2 separate regions of the Homo sapiens genome follow, and region 1 is linked to region 2. The links are contacts of gene promoters, found by promoter capture Hi-C in human tissues and cell types (Jung and others, 2019). All regions are on one chromosome and are shown on one strand. The core of a region is centred on a gene start or on the middle of the fragment in contact, and the rest is flanking DNA. Distances in the headings are between cores, read along the strand shown.

What was found. The method cuts DNA at HindIII sites, captures the fragments that hold promoters and counts their contacts. A contact is called where the count stands out against the background at its distance.
Region 1: the fragment with the promoter of DVL3 here is called in contact with a fragment that was not itself captured in region 2 in 1 of the 25 tissues and cell types used here (spleen).

What each region holds. Positions count from the first base shown.
Region 1 is chr3:184,153,979-184,156,678 of GRCh38, forward strand. It overlaps DVL3 (dishevelled segment polarity protein 3), which reads left to right and starts at 1,399. Exons shown (of 15, transcript NM_004423.4): 1 at 1,399-1,818. The coding sequence starts at 1,658. RefSeq lists a silencer at 1,296-1,645 and an enhancer at 1,983-2,700. The HindIII fragment of the contact is 10,362 bases long and covers 1-2,700 here.
Region 2 is chr3:183,896,334-183,899,033 of GRCh38, forward strand. It overlaps the pseudogene CYP2AB1P. Among named protein-coding and RNA genes, the nearest start is that of MIR4448, 11 kb to the left of the region's middle. The HindIII fragment of the contact is 5,560 bases long and covers 1-2,700 here.

The DNA.
Region 1 (2,700 bases), core at 149-2,648, 260 kb after region 2:
TGTCGCCCAGGCTGGAGTGCAGTGGTGGGATCTCGGCTCACTGCAAGCTCCACCTCCCGGGTTCAAGCGATTCTCCTGCCTCAGCCTCCCGAGTAGCTGGGACTACAGGCATGCGCCACCATGTCCAGCTAATTTTTGTATTTTTACTAGAGACGGGGTTTCACCATTTTGGCCAGGCTGGTCTCGAACTCCTAACCTCAGGTGATCCACCTGCCTCAGCCTCCCAAAATGTTGGAATTACAGGCATGAGCCATTGCGCCTGGCTTCCCCTGTCACTATCCCATCACTTTGTTTTACCTTCTTCATAGCAGTGGTCACTCTGAAGTTATGTATTTACAAGCCTATGTGCTTCCCTCCAGCTGAGGGAAGGTCCTGAGAGCAGCCTTGTCTGTCTCGCTATCGCTATATCTCATGCGATATGCCTTATACACAGTAGGCCTTCAGTATTTATTAAATGAATTAAAAGTTAAGGGGTGAGGAGATCTGTGAGGAACCGGCTATACCTAGTTCTGGAGTTCTGGTTTGAGACTTACTGTCTTAGGCATGCATGCATCCACTTATCTTTTTTTTTGGGGGGGGGCGAGGGGGGATGGAGTTTCACTTTTGTTGCCCAGGCTGGAGTGCAAAGGCAGGATCTCGACTCACCGATCTCGGCTCACCGCAACCTCCGCCGCCCGTGTTCAAGCGATTCTTCTGCCTCAGCCTCCCGAGTAGCTGAGATTACATGCATGCGCCACCACGCCCGGCTAATTTTTTTGTATTTTTAGTAGAGACAGGGTTTCTCCATGTTGGTCAGGCTGGTCTTGAACTCTCGACCTCGGGCGATCCGCCCGCCTTGGCCTCCCAAAGTGCTGGGATTAGAAGCGTGAGCCACCGCGCCCGGGCCCCACTTATTCCGCATTCAACCCATTTATTAAACCACTACCTTGCAACTGGACGCTAAGGTTATAGGGAGGAATCAGAACTGGATGCTGTCCTTCTCTCGAGATCAGTTTAGTAGACTCAGTGACAGCAGTTGTGCTTCTCAAGAAACACTGAAGGGCCATGTTGAGGTCATTCTCCTCCAGGGATCCAGAGTCAGACCCACCCTCTTTCCCCAGACCATTTCTGGGGACCAAAGCAATCCCTGCATTCCACTCTTCCTGGACTGCAGAGGAGTCGCCGATCCCACTTGGGTCCGGAGTCAGGGCCTTCAGGGGTCCGGGAACGCCGCCATCCCGGTGAATCTCCCCTTCCGTTTCTAGGGACCCGGGACCGGAGCGCCGCGGCCCGGCCAGTGGGCGGGAAACCCTGCCATCTGCCGCGACGCCGGCGCCTCTCCGCGGCGGCCGGGGGCGGGGCGCGCCGGGGCGGGGCCGCGCCGGGCCGGAGGAGGGGAGCGGGCCCGGACGAAGCCCTGGGCCGGGAGGGCCGCGGCCACCGGAAGAGTCGCGGTCGCCAGTCCAGTCGGGAGAGTGGGGAGCGGAAGCGGCGGCCGCGGCGGCGGCGGGCGGCGCTGGGACCCGGTAGCGGCCGGAGAACAAGGGAGCTGGCGCCGCCAGCAGCCGCCGAGCTGGGTTGAGCCGCTGGGCCGCGCCGCGCGCCGCCGCCGTCTGGGAGGCTCGGCCCGGCCGCCCGAGCAGGCCGCGCGCGGGCCGCCGGGCCCGAGGCCAGAGCCATGGGCGAGACCAAGATCATCTACCACTTGGATGGGCAGGAGACGCCGTACCTTGTGAAGCTGCCCCTGCCCGCCGAGCGCGTCACCTTGGCGGACTTTAAGGGCGTTTTGCAGCGACCCAGCTATAAGTTCTTCTTCAAGTCTATGGACGACGATTTCGGGTGAGGATGGCCCCCGCCCCGCCTCCGGGAGCCCCGGCCGCTCTGGCTTCTAAGGGATGACGCGGTCCGTTTCGACTTGCCTCGCTACACCGGCTCCTAGCCCCGCTCTGACTTCTAGGGGCGACTCGGCCCATTTGGGCCCCTTTGGTTCCAGCCCCAGTAGCAACTCCCGTTTACCTCTGAAGAGGGGACGTTGGCCTCCCTTGTTTAAGGGGACGTCCAATTCCCCACTAGCAATCAGAGTTCCTGCCGGTGCGGTCCCCTTACCTCTTCAGAGACCAGTGGCCCACAGAGACAGACACACCCCCCCTCCACCTAGTTTCAGAGCCCGAGTCCCCCATCCTCCTCCTGCCGAGGAGCCAGAGCCACCTTTTTCCGCACAGACTTGGGTCGTGTGGCCCTCGTTCTTCGCCCCCTTCATCTTTTCAGCAGCACAGCTCCCAGCCATATTTGGAGTATGCTGCATCTGAGGGCTCTGCTGGGACTTTGAGCTGGGGGAGGGGTGTCGGGGGTGCTCGGGCGCCTGGCCGCGAGCGGGGTCTGCAGATCTGATGTTTATCTAGCTGCCTGCCCTCTCCTTTGTGGGCTGTTGTGGGTGTTGTCACCGGAACAGAGAGCCTGACCCCTGCGGAGTAGTCCTCACTGACCCAGGTGCTGATCTTTCCTCCAATTCGGGCTTTTTTCCTCCAGTTGGTGGCCAGTGGAGAGACGTTAGGAAGGGCCTGGGGCCTGGGTGGGATAGCCAGGAAGAGTTTCTTGGTGTTCTCTATCTTCCCCTCCCTGGTGGGGTCTTCCCTTCCACCCAGCTGCAGAGATCTGGACAGGCACAGTTTGGAAGCAGTCACTTTCCCTTTAAGAGGGGATGGAATGTTGGAGCCGGAA
Region 2 (2,700 bases), core at 126-2,625:
AGGTTGGGTAAGATGATGGTGCCCTGCAGAGAGATGCTGGTGTGGCTCAGGGAGCCTCAGATGGTACCCAGTACCCAGCCCTGACACTGAGCCACAGTGAGCTTGGAGAATACCCAGTGTGTTGGTGGGAGTAGTCCAGGGGCCTTGAGGAGACTCAGCAGCCGGCCCTCAGGCTGCCCTTCCTCCAGGCTCACATCAGTGAAGGAGCTGAGCAGGACACCCTCCTGGCTAAGGACTGCCCAGCTTTGTCCTGAAGACTCCCAGCCACGTCTAGGGACATGAAGCCATTGCCTCCTACAGAGAAGGCCAACAGCTGGGGGCATGTCTGGAAGGGGCCAAGGACAGCCCAGGACAATACACACTGGGGCAGGGGATGTGTGCACACGTGGGTGTTAAGAGGAAGAGACAGAACGAGGAGAAATGGAATGGCAAACAAGCAGAGAAAGAGGAACTGAGTGATGGAAAGACAGAGAGGAGACAGCAAGCTTCACTCTTTAGGGTTGGGGAGAGGAAAACATGAACCATAAGCCCAACTCTAACCTTCAACCTAACCCCAACCCTCACCTTCCCCCAAACCCAAACCCAAATCTTCCCTCTCACCCTCACCTCAGCCCTCACTCTATCTCAAAGGAGAAGTGAGTGATTAGAAAGAGAATCAGACCAAGCAGATGGGAGCAGGGTAACATCTGCTCCTTACCATGTGGGCCCTGGGCTGACCGGAAACAGCATAAGGAGGCCAAAGTGGAGCCAGGATGGGGTCGGTTATGGTCCCCAGCCCTAGAACACTCAGCTCTGGGATTCCGGGGAAGGCCTCATACCCCAGGGCTCATTTACCAAATACCACAAAATTAAACCAGCTATCCCTGTAGAGACCAGAGGGCTGACTACAGAATTCTTGATTCTGACCAAAGAAAAAGCTTGAAATTAAAAAAAAAAAAAAAAGCTTAGCGAGTTTGAAGCCTGCATTCTAAACAGAAACCAATAAAGAATGCAGAAATGGAGCAGCAGATGCTGGCTGGTCGCAGTGGCTCACACCTGTAATCCCAGCACTTTGGGAGGCCAATCAGGGCGGATCGCTTGAGGTCAGGAGTTTGAGACCAGCCTGGCCAACACGGTGAAACCCCATCTCTACTAAAAATACAAAAATTAGTCGGGCGTGGTGGCAAGTGCCTATAGTCTCAGCTACTCGGGAGGCTGAGGCAGGCAAAGGTTGTAGTGAGCCAAGATCACGCCTCTGCATTCCAGCCTGGGCGACAGAGCAAGATTCCATCTAAAAAAACAAAACAACAACAACAAAAAAAAAAACAGAATGCAGAAATTGTTTTCAGGGGAAATTGTTCTTTTTTGCCGTTGTTGCAGTACGGCACGCTTAGGCAAGGTGCCTCATCCTAGCCATGTGTACCAATAGGGCACCCAGACTTGCTCACTCTGTAGCTTCAAGCAGAGGTGTTGGGGAGGCCTGTGTTCTTGCTGCTGCCTGAGTGAGCTATAGATTTCCCAGTTCTAGTCATGGGAATTCCCCCATTTTCTCTACCTGGGATTAAGTAACCTCTGCATTGCAACGGTTCTTACTAATCACCTTCAGAGGAGGAGGCTCCTAGCAAGATGCTCTTTTCCCTCCAGAATTATTTGTGTCCTTTTTTGGGTGATGTTCTGGCCTCCTTGCAAAGGAGGTTCTCAGCTCATGGAACAGGTTCAGAGCACAGCCTATCCAGTATGCAAAAAGGACAGCGCCCCGCCCCCCGCAACAACCGCCCTCCACTTCCCCAGACTGTAGAACCATCTACCTGCTGGGTACCTCCTGGGGTCGCTGTGCCAGCTTCTGCCCAGTAAATGGCAATTTGGAATTCGCAATCAAATAGAATGTCTGAGAAGAGAGACAGGCTGGAAGTGCAACCGTCGTATCAGGGACTATTGCTGTTGTCACGATCACTCAGCTGATGAAATGGTTAGGAACAGTTTAGGAATATCTGTAACATTTAATGATCTACTGTCAAGCTTTGATTCCACTTTCAGCAGACATCTCTCGTCCAAGTTGTAAAAGCTCAATATTGATTTCAGCTCGTTAATGGGCCCCTGGAGCCTTTATCACAGAACAAGTCCTAGAATCAAATTGGCAGGAATGAGCTCTTAATAAGGAAATTTCTAATCCCAAACGGCATAACACAGAGCAGTACCCTGGCCCCCTCTTTTTAACTTAAGTTGGCACAGCTTCTAGACAACCTGGGCCTGGGTCCTTCTGCCACGCCAGCAGCAAGATGACCTGATGCCCTGGTCCTATCCACTTTCCCAGAGACTCTTGACAAACCTGTAAACTTGCTGGCCAATTTCTGCCAAGGACAGAATGACAGTGTAAAACATCTCCATTGAACACATTGGTTCACTTACCTAGAGTGGCATTTTCGTATAAATACAAACAGCAGGGCATATGGTAGGAAAAGAAAACACTTTAGAGTCAGAGGGACATGCATTTGAAACTCAGCTAAGTCACTTACTAGCTGTGTTTGGGCAGTTTCTTAAGCTGCCTATGCTGAAGTTTCTCTATCTATGGAAAAGAAACAGCAACAAAGCGTCCGAAGGATAGGGCTTCTGTGAAGAAAAAAATCTGTGGAGGAAGGAACCTCAAGTCTGGGCAAATTAATAATAAGTTAATAATGGGGCTGGGCATGGCGGCTTATGCCTGTAATCCCAGCACTTTGA